Regions from separate parts of the Homo sapiens genome. Here regions 2 and 3 are each linked to region 1. Evidence: promoter capture Hi-C in human tissues and cell types (Jung and others, 2019). All regions are on one chromosome and are shown on one strand. The core of a region is centred on a gene start or on the middle of the fragment in contact, and the rest is flanking DNA. Distances in the headings are between cores, read along the strand shown.

Region 1 (4,714 bases), core at 1,485-3,984:
ATTTGCCTTATTAATTCAAGAGAAAAAGAAAAGAAATTATTCTTAGGCTTTGCAGTCTTTGCATGTAGTTACAATTATTCCCCATGTGCATATCTGAGACAATAAGGAGGCTCTTCAAAAACAAGTTATACTTTATACTTATTCATGCCTTACAGCGAAATGGCCCAGAGAACCACGTGACCTGCATCAGAATGTAGCAACAAGTCCCTTTTGAGTATTTACAAATCCCCTCACTTCACCGCAAGCAGAAGAACTAGTTCGCAACAACGAGTTAGGTGAATGGTTCTCCATCTGACATTAGTGGATGTTGGGCTCTACATTAAAAATAGAATTTATTGTGGAAGGTCAATTGTCTCCAAATGCACCATCAGACTCGGCAATGCTCATTGGCCAGTATCACTCCCTCCTTATGACTCAGAGTCAGAACCACACACTTATTAATGAGCTTTCTGAAGTAGCACATCAATTGACTTTAATTTGGTGGTGACCTGAAGTCAATTTAAAAAATATGCTGGCTAGCCATGGTGTTGAGCAGTTGGAAAAATAGTATGAAATGTCTTAAAAATTAAAACACACACATGTCTCCCCCTGCTCTTACAATGTGTTTGCAGCCCGTGAAGGAAACAGAATAGGAAATCCTTGTCTTAGATGACAATTCAATACGTGCCATTAAGACAATTTTTTTTTCCCTGCAAGGTGGTGTATTGGAGAGTGGAGTTCTCAGAGGTAGAACTGCTTTAGAAAATCCAGTAAGCTGCTGGGTAGATTCAGGTTCTTTTTATATGTGTGTTAGTCACAACACAGATTCAAAAGGGGGTGGGGGAGGGAGAGCTGGACTCAGTTCAAGGCCACCAAGCCATTGTTAGAAAGAGACAGCTAATTAAGAAAGGCCATGCTGTGGTGGAAACGATTTGTTTAAACCAAATCTCTTTCCCTATCTTTCCCAGAGAAACTGTCCAGACCTGGTGTAAATTGTGGACATTATTGCCCCATAAAAAAGGGGTGGGGGTTCTTCAATGATATGCTTTGTTAAACAAAAGGTGATGAACAATTTCCTTTGCTCTGCACTCTGGGCTCTACATTTAAAAAGACGGGGAGATGGGGGATAAAATGCCTGATTTATGCTGAGGGGGGCACTCCAGGCCACCGGGAAGGGTTGAAGGGAAAGGGACCCAGAGCCAGGGCCCATGGAGCTGAGAGCTGTCCAGGGCCTTTGGTGCTGAAAGCAGGTGCGCGCGCTGGGGGTCCAGAACTCCCCGGAGAAGAACACCGCCTGTCCCCCAACTCCGAGTCAAGACGGTGCAAATGACAGAGGCGGAGCCCCAGATAAGCATAGTGCCTGCGCTCCCTCTGTCTTCAGCCTGGGCAGACCCTGCAGCTGTCTGCTTTTTTACACGTGAGGAGCGCATTTCTGGGACCTTGCAAGAAGGCCGGGTCCTGTGGCCAACTAACCCTCCCATTGATTTTCGGGTCTCCTAGGTGCCTGAGAAAACCCCCGAAGCTCTGAGGGTTAGCTTTGGGTGAGTTAGGCGTTGCACCCCTCTCTCTATCTGGCCCTCTCCCCCACCCATAACTTTTCCTGGGGTACCTTACCGGGGTGGAGAGAGGGTATGGTTCCAGGTCTGAGAAAGAGGAGCTGTCATTCTCTGCTAAATTTGGGCCCCTCTTCCCCTTCAACAAACACGTGGTAGATGAAACTAACACCCCTCACCCCCCATTCCTAACAGTGATCAGAGATGCTAGGCAGTAGGGGAGAGAGTAGAGGGGAGCCCGTTCAGGTTCCCAACTGCTAACTAACATCTCTTCTCCCTCCCCTACCAAGTTCTCAGAGCCCTCAGCCCCCTCCACCGGCCTCTAGCGAAAGCCACACCCAAGTCCGGTATCCTGACGCTTGGCTGAGATCGATCCAGGAACACAGACCCTCGGGGTAGCCTGAACCAAAGGAGTCAAGGGTTTCTGTGGTGTCGGGGGGAGCGGCAAATGCACTGTTTGAGTCTAGTCCTCAGTTGCAGGGTGGGTCAGCTTCTCACCCCCCTTCCTGTCCTCTCCCGGAGAGGAAGATAATTATCTGGCACCTAGCCCCGGGTGCGGTTGCAGAGAAGCGCCGGGAATTTGGGGTTTGGAGGCGACCCCACTCCAAGGAGAACCTCTTTGGCTGCAAAGGAGAATCAGCCCCGCAGCCGGGGAAGACCGAAAGGGAGCCCGCAGCCGAAGCAGGGAAGCGCCCGAGTCCTTCAACACATCCCCGCCTCCACACTCCCATCAGCCCGGGCCAAGGGGACGTGCGGTTCCTAGCCCCGATTTTGGACAGCCACCACCGCTTCCCATCCCGGCGGGTGGTGCCTGAGTCGCCCTGGTCAGCCCCGACCCCTGGCTGCCCCGCTCTCCCGGCAACTTTGCCCCCTGCCCGCCCCGCCCCTCGGGGCGCTTACCTCGCTCCAGCGCTGCCGCCGGGCTCCCCAGGAGCAGAGCGAGGAACAGCGAGATCCCGCGGAGTCCCGCGGCGGGCGGCCGGGCCGCGGGCATCGTGGCTGCAGGGGGCGCGGAGCCGCTGGCTGTGGGGCGGGCGGACGGCGAGGGAGCTGGGGAAGGAGGGCGGCGGTGAGCGAGAAAGGGGAAGCGGGAGCGAGGGAGGAGGCCGCGGGCCGGGGCAGCTTCCGGAGCCCCCTGGGCGGACGCGCGCTCAGCCCCGCGGTCGCTCTGGCCGAGCTGCGCCGGGCGCGGGCGGGCGAGTGAGGAGGAGCCGGCGAGCGAGCGAACGAGCGTGGAGCGAGCGGGAGGAGGGAGGGGGCTGGGGCCGAGTCTGTGCCGAGCGAGTGCAGGGAGGGAGGGGGCGGGCGAGCGGGCAGTGAGCTGGAGGGGCCGCGGCGGCGCCGGGGGTGCCAGCCGCCTCCTCTGGCCGCCGGCCCGTCGGCCCTGCAAAGTTTAACGCCAATTCCCCTTGCGTCCTGGGAGCCGAGCGTTTTCTCTCCCTGCTGACGCTCCCAGCAGCTCTGCCTGGCCAGGCCAGGCTGGAGAGCACCCGGACCATTTTCCAGACGGTGAGATGGAGCCCTGGAAACCGAGCTTATGAGCAGCCCGGAGCTTTCCATTGCCTGCCCAGCCTTCCAGATACATCCCAGTTCCAGTTCTTTCCAGAGCCCTCTGGGATCCAGCCAGCCTGCTTCCCCGCCAGGGCCTCACTGCTTCCAAAGTGAGTCCCCATAACCTAGAAAGTCTGTAACTCTGTGGATCTGGTGACAGCTGTGAATCTACTAGAACACTACACATAGCCACAAAATCGTGCATCTAACACGAGGGGGTCTGGACCCCTCTGAAGCCCAATCACGAACTCTAAATTAAGATCCACCTCCACTTTTTAATCTGAGCCCTGTCTCCCATAACCCCACTGCCGGCAGGGCACTAGCGCTGCGAGGCTTCCTCTCAGGTCAGCCGCTTGCCTCTTCCTGTACCCGCTTCCCTATCTGAGCAGGACTACAAGGCCCACCTCTGCAGCATTCTTGCCCAGGCCTGATTCTCAAGCAAAGTCTTTTCTCCACAAATAGAGGTAGTGAGGGACAATCAATGAGGGAGATAAACAGATACTTGGGGACAGACATTGGCAGAGAGCTAGGTGGGGACAAGCTTATGCACAGTCCTGGAGACTGACTGTCTCTCCCTGCGTAGCCTTGGCAGACCGGTCAGGCTTTACAGGCCTCTCACCCAATTTAGAAGCTGTCCTCCTCCCCCTACCCTACCTTGCCATACTATCTACACACTGCAGCCTGAACAGGCAGAGGGAGCAGATGGAGAGAAGGTTGCAGGCAGCAACAGGGGGAGGAATATGTCTTTAGCAGCGTGGTGGAGCCGGGAGTCCCTAGAAAGAATGGGTGGGGGAGGTGAACACTGGATGGAGGAGGGAAGGAGAAGCACTCTGGCCCAGGGTTTCAGAAGACGCTCCACACCCAGAGCTTCCCCATTTACTCACTCAAACAATGCTCTTTTACAGGCCACTGACTATAGGCCCAGACCTGCCTCAGGCTTTGGGGGACAGAGAGCCCCCCCATAAAATCCTATCTTCAGCTGCAAGAGGTTTCCATTCCTGGCAGTAAACCCAACTGGCTTTTATAAAGAAGGTGGCTGAGGCAGGGATGCAGGAGTGCTGATTTCTCCTTTGGAGAAGATGAAGCACTCCATGCTTTACTGTATGAGGCTGCCAGCTCTCTGTGGAATGACCTTGCCTGTTTGTGGCTATACGCTCAGGCTCTGTATAGTATAATGCAGGCATGCAGCGGGTGCTCAGTGAGACTTGTTCAATGGAAACCTAAAGAAGCAAGGAAGATGGAGGAGGAGGGGAAAGGGAAGAAAGCGAGCGAGAGAAAAACGAAGAGGTAGTTTAGCTCCATACTTGGAGGCAAGGAAACTATTTTTAATTCCTAGGTTCAGGGGTACTTGTGCAGGTTTGTTATGTGTGCAAACTTGTGTCATGGGAGTTTGTTGTACAGATGATTTCACCAACCAGGTATTAAGCCTGGTACTCAATAGTAATTTTTTTCTGATCCTCTCCCTCCTCCTGCCTTCCACCCTCTGGTAGGCCTCTGTGTGTGTTGTTCCCCTCTATGTGTCTGTGTGCTCTCATCATTTAGCTCCCACCTATAAGTGAGAACTTGTGATATTTGGTTTTCTGTTCCTGCATTAGTGTGCTAAGGATAATGGTCTCCAGCTCCATTCATGT
Region 2 (4,714 bases), core at 1,357-3,856, 46 kb before region 1:
TCCCAAATTGCTAAGATTATAGGCGTAAGCCACCACGCCCAGCCTACTTCACCTCTTTAAGTCTCAGTAATATATATAAAACTAGCAGTTCAAATGAGAAGACATGGACACAGGGAGGGGAACATTACATACCAGGACCTGTTGGGAGGTGGGGAGCAAGGGGAGGGAGAGCATTAGGACAAGTACCTAATGCATGTGGGGCTTAAAACCTAGATGACGGGTTGATAGCTGCAGCAAACCACCATGGCACATGTATTGTACCTATGTAACAAACCTGCACGTTCTGCACATGTATCCCAAAACTTAAAAGTAAAAAAACAAAACAAACAAACAAAACTAGTGGTTCAGATGGCTTTGGTTAGGGTTGCAAAGGGATAATGAATGGGTATTTATAAAGTGCTCAGCACTGGCCTGACACAAAGCATGTCCTCAATAAATGGGAGACATTGTTTTTCTTTCTCTCTACCTGATGGCTGTGTATATTCCTGCATCTGTTTTCCTACTCAACTGTGTGTTTATCAACGGCAGGAAGTGTGTCTAATTTACCTCTGCTCTCCAGCACCCAGGAGATTGACAGGACAGAGAAGGGTCTCCAGGAACTGTTTGCAGAGGGAGCCTGTGTCTGTGTTCATTTCTTGTCGACATCAGCCTCAGAAGTGTCTTCTACGTTCAGAATTCAATTCAACTCTCATGAAAGAAAGCCAGGCACTTCGCCTTCCATCGCAGCAGGTGGCAAGGGAATTTTAGAAAATGCCGTATGGCAGGACCTAAAGGGGAAATTCCTTGAGGAGGAGGAGTCCCACACAACATGTTGTATTTGCGAGGCCCACTTGGGGCCATATAAGCTGATCTTGAAAGAACCGTGGGGCCTTGTCATCCATTTTACAGATTGGAAGAGTGAGGCCCAGAGTGGGGGACTTGCTCATGGCCATAGAAATTGAAATTGGATGGGCAGAGACTTAACATTACCTAATTAAATAATCACATTAATGTGGACCCACTAATAGACGGATACCCCAGAGGAAGAGACAGAGCTGTCTTCAGAAGTGACACTTACACTGAGGTCTGAAAGAGAAGTAGAAGGTAATCAGGCCAAAAGTCAGGAAGGGGTTTACAGAAATGTTTAGGAAGAGGGAACAGCAGGTGCAAAAGCCCTGTGTTGGCAGAAGCCACAAGAAGATCAGTGTGGCCGAAAGAAAAAAGGGAGGATGTCACTGATACAGAAGATAGCCAGGACCTGATTGTGCATGTCTTGTAAGTTCCAAAGAAGAGTCTGGGTTTGGTTTCAAGGGTTGGAGGGTTATAGTCAGTGTTGGGTTTGGAAATGTCACTATGGTGGTGGGAAGGGAAGAATGGGGCATTCTGGGGTCCCAGCTCTGCTACCTACTAGCACTGTAATCCTGGAGGAGTGCAAGTTGCCACGCAGGTACTTAAAGCTATTGTGTGGAATAAATGAGATGATAATTAGTGAGTTACTGTTATCATCATTAGTCAAAAAAGCAAAGCACTAAAGAGTCAGAAGTCCTGGGTTCAAATCCCAGTTATTCCCATTTAATCCTCAGGGGTGCAGGAGAGCCCAGTGGTTAAGAGCTCTGGCATTGACACCAGACATCAAGGGGTCCAGGCTAAACCCTACCACTTCCCTCCTGGTTATATGGCCTTAAGCAAGTGACTTTACCTCTCAAAGCCTTAGATTTTCCATATGCAAACTGGGGACAATAATGAGAATGACCTAGTGGGTGGTTGTACAGATTTAATACAAATTAATAGCATGATGTCTGATAAATTTTGGCCATTTTGATGATGATAATGATGATTGCCAAATTGGTTTTATTCACATAAGGACACTACTTTTACCTGCTGGACCATTTCTTTTTCTTTTTCTTTTTCTTTTCCTTTTTCTTTTTTGAGATGGAGTCTCACTCTGTCACCAAGGCTGGAGTGCAATGGCGCAATCTCGGCTCACTGCAACCTCCGCCTCCCGGGTTCAAATGATTCTCCTGCTTCAGCCTCCTGATTAACTGGGATTACAGTTGCACACCACTACACCCAGCTAATTACTGTACTTTTAGTGGAGACAGAGTTTTACCATGTTGGCCAGGCTGGTCTCGAACTCCTGATCTCAAGTGATCTTCCCGCCTCAGCCTCCTAAAGTGCTGGGATTACAGGTGTGAGCCATCACACTCGGCCCCTGCTGGATCATTTCTTAGGACAATAAACTAAACATCCACCACTTGGGGACAGGTCAGCTGTCCCCTTAGGGATTGAGTGATTTCTCAGGAAAAGTTCTGAGACAGGAAAGACTGATTTAGCAGAAAGAGCTAGATCATTTCCAGCTCCTCCACTAACTGACCACGTGGGACTGCGCAAGGTCCCAGCTCTCCCTGGTTTTCTGTTTCTTCCTCTCTGGGCTTTGCTTCTGACAGGGTTTCTGTTTCTTCCTCTCTGGGCTTTGCTTCTGTTCCTTTAAGCTTGCTGGATGGTCAGAATGCTCTAGTTTGGGGGCAGGGAGAGAGGAAGATGGGAATCACTCAAATCCAATTTCCGTGGCTTCACCTAGTGCTCCCGTCATGCAATAAGGAGCATCCGGGACCTCTGCTCTGCTTCTGTCAGCGAGAAGCTGGGATGATTCAGTGCCTTGCAAAGCGAGCTCATCACATCAGGCTGTTCACACTGCTCTGTAGATAAGGCTCAGCTCATCAGTCAAGATGCCCTAAACGTTTCCTCAGATCCCTGCTCACCCCAGGCGAATGGCCCTTCTTCCCAGAGGTGAACACATCTGAAAGGATCCCTGACAAGTCACTGGGATTGAGCACTTGATCCAAACCCACCTCAGGCTGGGGGCACAACCTTCAGTCTATGAAATGAAGGCCTGGGGAATTCTTTTCATTCATTCATTTACTTCTTTATGGGGTTTCCTTTTGCTCCCTTTTTTCTCTTTACCTCTCACAGCTAGGCTCTCCAGTGTTCTTAGGGATTGATATGGATTGAGCCTTTTCTTTTTTTCTTTCATCCCTTCCTGAGTCTCCATTAGGGATCTGTTTTCTTTTGGAAACAAAACGAATCGCCTCTCCCATTTTGGTTTGCCATTTCAAGATGGTGGGAGTCATCTATCCAGCAAGTTTTCCAAGCAAGGAAAAAGAAGACCAGGACCTCACCAAGAACATGCAGAAGTATGTCTGAGTGGGAGGTGGGGTGAGGGTTGAGAAATTACCTATTGGGTAAAATGTTTAATATTTGGGTGATGGGTGCACTAGAGTCTAACCTCCACCATTGTGCATGTAACACCTGTGTAACAAGCCCATATACCTAGTGAACCTAAAATTTTTTAAAAAAGAAGTACATCTTAGGACAAACATAAACTCTACAATGATCTCAGTTAACATCATGATTAAAACAATAAATTTAAGTAAATTACAAAGTTACTGATACATGTAATTCGGTCTTCGCTTCTAACCAAGCACCACCCATGTGATGAAAGTTCAGGGCTGAGAAACATTTTTCTTGAACGATTCTGTTCTCCTCCCTTAAAAAGTATGTACCACTTTCATTTCTTTAGTTCAATAAACACTTACTTAGTGCCTGCCCAATGAATACGTACTAAATCACATTGAGCATTTTTTTTTGTCATATGCCAGGCACTCTAAATGTATTCCTTTATGTAGTCATTTATATGTTTCTATTCATCAGTGTTATAAGTTTGATCAATGCCATGCCCACCACCCACCCAGAAACATCCCCGCAAACTCTGTCTATTCCCCAAGTCATAATTCTGTGTTTTCTACTTTTTTCCCCTTCTCCTTTCAGTCTCTTTCTGACTGCAGGCAACCCACTCTTTTCTTCCTCCCCTCCAAATCTGGGCCAACTGGCGCCAAAATCCTTTTGTTGAAGCTTCTGAAAAAAACAAGGTGTTGCTGTCTGTCTGTTCACACCTTTTCTCTGGGCAAGCTGCTTCCTTCCTGAAATTCCGCAGGAGATCCGACCAGCATTTCTTATATATAATACTCCACATGATATTCCTGCTTTGTATAGTTCTGGCTCCTTCAGGACTTTAAAGTTTTTTCTTCCCTCTTCTTCCCCATCAGGGAATCCATAACCTTTAATCCATGTTCCTGCAAATGTTCTATCTGAGAAAACGGGTCTAGGATGCAAGTAGCTAAGAATAGCTGACGTTTATTGGTTCTTTTCCGTGTGCCGGGCCCTGCATGAAATACTTCACATGCATCTACTTCTTTAATCCTCAGGACAGCTCTGTGAGGCAGGAACTATCACTGCTTCCGTTTCTCAGATGAAGAAACCAGGCTCAGAGAGGTGAAGTGAGCTGCTCTAGGACACACAGCTAGGTTTAAAGCAAAATTTATCCCAATGCCTTTTTTTCTTAACCATTAGACTGTATAGCTTTTCCTTCCCAAGTTACTCAAGAAGGTCACTGATCTCCAAAGTCATTAGTTTCTCTTGCAGTGGCAGACCTCTTTGAATTCTTGAAATACTACTATGAATGCCACTGGTTATTAAGCAATGTGTGGACAGAGGCCATCATTGGGAAGTCCTTGTACTGCCCTGTGCCTTGCACAATGTTGGGCTTGTCCTGTGGGCCCAATCCATCCTTGCTCAAGATCTTTCTTTCTTTTTCTTTTTTTTAAGAGACAGGATCTCATTTTATTGCTCAAACTGGAGAGCAGTGGCATGATCACGGTTCACTGCAGCCTAGACT
Region 3 (4,714 bases), core at 1,140-3,639, 39 kb after region 1:
ATCCATTCACTTACTCAGTCATCACCTTTCTGACTACTTCTCTGTGGTTCTATATTAGAAACCAAGGCTACCATGAGGAATTACACAGGGATACATTCATTCACCCAACAAACGTTCATTCAGTACTTACCAGGTATCCAACAAAGTTATTCATTCATTCATCAAATCTCTGACTCTTACCCATGGTTCTATGGCAGACATCGAGGTTACCATAAATTACACAGGGATATGTCAATTCATTTGACAAATGCTCATTGAGCATCTACTATGTGTAAGACAGTCAGTCCATCTGTCCATCCATCCATCCATCCATCCATCCATCCATGCATCCATTTATTATATATTTATTGGGAGCCTATTTCACGCCAGGCTAGTCCTAGGTGCTAGGGATACTGTGGTGAACAAGACAGATATGGTCTCTGCCCTTGGAGCATCTGGCAGAGTCACCCCTTTGTTGGTGGCTTTAGGGAATCAGAAAGTCTAAAGGAGAGAGACCATTTCAGGTGATGGGACAAACAGGCTTGCTCCGGGCGCCCACCTGAGGAGCTGGAGGTGAGGATAAGGATGGGGCTGCATCCTCCAGATACCCAGAGCCTGTCTTTCGCTGCATTCCTTACGGGCAGGCTCTGCTGCCACATATGAGCATTCTCAGAAATCTCTGCTCACCAAGGACAGGACTGCCCTATGCCATTCCCTGTGGTGCAGACTCTCTTGACCCAGGTGCAGCACTTTTCTCCCTCTGAGTGGTTCTGCCTTCAGCCTAATGCGTGGATATTTCCATTTCAAAAGCACTGTCATGATGCATATCCACCTCATCCCCCTACTCTCAGCATCACGGAGCTGATGTCTGGCCGGGGGGCACTGCACGTCTCATAATAATGCTTGTTATTACAGTCAAGACTCACCCCAGCCTCCATTCTGAGCACACAAATTAAACATCGCACTGGCTTCCCCTCCAACAGCTTCCCGGCCCTGCCTCCTCTGCAAGAACTCTGGCTTCAGGCAACTTCTCAGGGATTCCATGGCTTATTTTTGCCTGACCAAGCTGATTTTTTTCCCCTCTCTTATTCTCTCAAGGTTTTATTCTTGGCACAGTTGCTGGAGATGCTCCAGCTTTGCAGTGAACCAAAATGTTATTCGTTACAGGAAAAAAAAACAACAAAAACCAGCAAACACTGCAGCTTCCCATAAAATACTTTTTTAACCATTAGGGAAAAGCTGTGGTGAGGAGTGGAAGTAAAAACGTAACTCTTGTGGCAACATTCTTGCTACTAATATTTGCTTAAAGCAGGCTACTTGGGTTCGAATCATTAGGAGCCTTATTAGGAACAGAAGCCAAGAAAGGTATTGGACAGGGAGGCAGCCCAGCCGGAAGAGTCTCCAAACAACCATTGTTTCATTCATTCACTCATTAATTCATTCAATAATGAATTTTTGAAAAATATTTATTGAGCACCTTTATGTGCCAGGCACTGTGCGAAGTGTTTGCCACACATTTATGAGCAGAACAGACAGCCTCCCTGCCCTCGTGAATCTTAAAGTCATGGGTAGAGAGATAGGCTGTAAAAAAATCATCCAGTAACCTATGATATGGGAGAAAATATTTGAAAGTTGAATATTTGATAAGGAGTTAATATACAGAATATATAAAGAATTCCTACACTCTGCAACAACATCAAAAAAAAACCCAGTTAAACGATAGGCAAATAACTTCAACAGACATTTTGCACATGAAGGTATGCAAATGGCCAAGGAGCACCTGAACAGGTGCTCAACGCCACTAGTCATTAGGGAAATGCCAATCAAAATCACCAGGAGATACCACCTCTCATCCATCAGGACAGTTACTATCCAAACCACAAAAAATAACAAGTGTTGGCGAGGATGTGGAGGGATTGGAACCCCTGTGTACTGTTGGTGGGGATGTAACAAAAGTGAAATAAGCCAGTCACAAAGGACATGCAGTGCCAGATTCTGCTCAGATGAGGTAGCTACAAGGTCAAATTCAGAGACAGAAAGTAGAATGGTGGTTGCCAGGACTAGCGGGAGTGGGGGAATGTGAAGTTATTTGTTTGTTTGTTTGTTTGTTTGTTTTGTTTTTTGAGACAGAGTCTCACTTTGTCGCCAGGTTGGAGTGCAGAGGCATGATCTCGGCTCACTGCAACCTCCGCCTCCTGAATTCAAGCGATCCTCCTGCCTCAGCCTCCCAAAAGTAGCTGGGATTACAGGAGCGTGCCACCACGCTCAACTAATTTTTTGTATTTTTAGTAGAGACTGGGTTTCACCATGTTGGCCAGGATGGTCTCGATCTCTTGACCTCATGATCTGCCTGCCACGGCCTCCCAAAGTGCTGGGATTGCAAGTGTGAGCCACAGCACCTGGCTGAAGTTATTGTTTAATGGCTATAGAGTTTTAATTTTGCCACCTGAAATGGGTTATGGTGACAGAGGGCAGTGGTGGTTGCACAACAATGTAAATGTACTTAACACCACTGAACTATTCATTCTAAAATGGCTAAGATGGTAAATTTTATGTTATGTGTATTTTACCACAATTTAAACAAATTCCCAAGTGCATGCTTTTAAACTTTAACAAATGCTATCTGGGAAAAGCACAGAGCTGTGACCAAGGTGCAATGAGGCAGATGATGCCCAGATCCTGTTTGAGGAAAGCCAAGAAAAGCTTCCCTGAGGGGTTGACACTTAAGCCAAGACTGGGAGGAGGAGTTGGAGGAGTCAAGAAGACAAAGAAGGAAGGAGGGAAGGGCATTCCAAGCAGAGAGAATGGTGTGAGAAAGGCCTAAGGTGGGAGGCAGGATGTCTGTGGATAGGGCAGGCTGAGAAATAAAATGGCGATATTGTAGTGGGAGGTGAGTTTGAAGAGGCAGAGGAGAGTAGAGTATCTGTCTGTATCTCAAGTTCAATGGGAAATCATTGGAAGGTTATACCCAGATTCCTCCTGACCAGATTCATATTTTAAAGAGCTGATTCCAGCTTCATTGAAAAGATCACTCTCGGCTGGGCATGGTGGCTCATGCCTGTAATCCTAGCACTTTGGGAGGCCGAGGTGGGCAGATCATGAGGTCAGGAGATCGAGACCATCCTGGCTAACACAGTGAAACCTGGCCTCTACTAAAAATACAAAAAAAAAAAAAAAAAAAAATTAGCCGGGCATGGTGGTAGGTGCCTGTAGTCCCAGCTACTCAGGAGGCTGAGGCAGGAGAATGGCCTGAACCCGGGAGGCGGAGTTTGCAGTGAGCCAAGATAGCACCACTGCACTACAGCCTGGGCGACAGAGCGAGACTCCGTCTCAAAAAAAAAAAAAAAAGAAAAGAAGTCACTCTTTTGCAGAATAGACTGTAGAAAGCAAAAGCAAAAGGGAAGAGACTAAGAAGAAGGTTATTGCCTTAGTCCTGGTGAGACGTGATGGTGGATTGGCACCCAGGGGTGGCAGTAGGGGCAGGAGTTAGTGCAGCAGCTGATAGTGAGTAAGGAGACCTCACAAGTGAGGAATCAGAAGCCAGGTCTTCAATGGGGCAACTGTGCCAGGTTTTGATCTGAGATGGATAAGGTTGTAAACTGGGACGTAGTCATGAGCCAAAATTGGAAGCAAGAAAGGAGACAAGGGTTGGGACAAGGAGCTCAGGAATGAGCCCCCCCCAATGCTGGAGGTCAGCTAGCATGGACTTCACAATATGCAGGCAGACCTGATGCCCAGGAGGGCTGGAATGTCTCCATATGTTTACTGCAGTTACACAGGTAATTTTGCAAGCTAGTGAAACCTTCTAATGGGACCAACTGACAGGAGGCTCTCGTTGAAAAATTCTAAAGCCTGTTTCTGTTAAGGTGGGTGCCCTAAGTGTCCTATTCTTGTATCACAATGCTGAGCTCGTGAGAATCAATGATCACTTTCAGTTTTCTGTGCTGCTATAGTAACCTTCCTTCATGATGAAAGTAAGAACCCCGTAAGTAAGACCCCCGTAAGAATGGAACAGACTAAATTGTCAGTATCTCAAAGAAAGATGGATCGCATGATCTTGGGGAAGAAATGTCTATTCAGGTTTATTAAGAACTTGCACTGCCGTTCTGTCATGAACGTGCTTTATTTGTGTAAAAAAAATAAAATAAGGGGGGAAATAACACTGTTTTCATTCATTGCCAGAGGCCTCGTGTACGAATACAAACACTCACAGAAAGTGGTGAGGGCAGTGAGATACTAAGATTCGTAAATTGTTTATGACTTTTGTTGCAATAACAGTACTTTCCAGATCCTTTCTTCATGAAATAATCCTAAATGTGAAATAAAAACTTTATGGATAGAATCGTGTTAGCTGCTGTTACTTGTAACAGGTGAAAAATTGAAAACAACCTAACTGTGCAAAACTACAGCCAATAAATTTTGCCTCATTCCACTCAACAGAATATTACATAACCATTAAAAAATGATGATTACAAAATACATATGCCAAACTGGGCAATGCTTATAATAAAGTTGAGTGAATGTGTATTTAATATCAACTACAGAAAGACAAATCAGCAACAGCAAATATCATTCAGAACAAAACTGGAAGGAAATGTATCAAAATATTAACCACTGTTGTGTTGCAGTCATGGAACTGTTAATAATTTTCTTCATTCAACTTTATGCAACCATATTTCTATAATGTGTAGGCACTTGATAATTGAAGGAAGTTATTTTAATAAGAAAAGCCATC

The links. Contacts are between HindIII fragments. The study calls those that stand out against the background at their distance.
Region 2: a contact is called between a fragment that was not itself captured here and the fragment with the promoter of SEZ6L in region 1, in 1 of the 25 tissues and cell types used here (H1 embryonic stem cells).
Region 3: a contact is called between a fragment that was not itself captured here and the fragment with the promoter of SEZ6L in region 1, in 3 of the 25 tissues and cell types used here (adrenal gland, aorta and stomach).

Annotation. Positions count from the first base shown.
Region 1 is chr22:26,167,482-26,172,195 of GRCh38, reverse strand. SEZ6L (seizure related 6 homolog like) reads right to left here and starts at 2,734. Exons shown (of 17, transcript NM_021115.5): 1 at 2,433-2,734. The coding sequence starts at 2,526. It overlaps LOC105372971 (a long non-coding RNA gene), which reads left to right and starts at 2,962. Exons shown (of 6, transcript NR_188586.1): 1 at 2,962-3,193. RefSeq lists an enhancer at 816-1,755 and a silencer at 2,582-2,711. The HindIII fragment of the contact is 7,592 bases long and covers 1-4,486 here.
Region 2 is chr22:26,213,850-26,218,563 of GRCh38, reverse strand. All of the region lies in intron 1 of SEZ6L (seizure related 6 homolog like), which reads right to left. Among named protein-coding and RNA genes, the nearest start is that of SEZ6L-AS1, 30 kb to the left of the region's middle. The HindIII fragment of the contact is 6,155 bases long and covers 1-4,714 here.
Region 3 is chr22:26,127,902-26,132,615 of GRCh38, reverse strand. No RefSeq gene overlaps it. Among named protein-coding and RNA genes, the nearest start is that of LINC02559, 22 kb to the left of the region's middle. The HindIII fragment of the contact is 3,369 bases long and covers 705-4,073 here.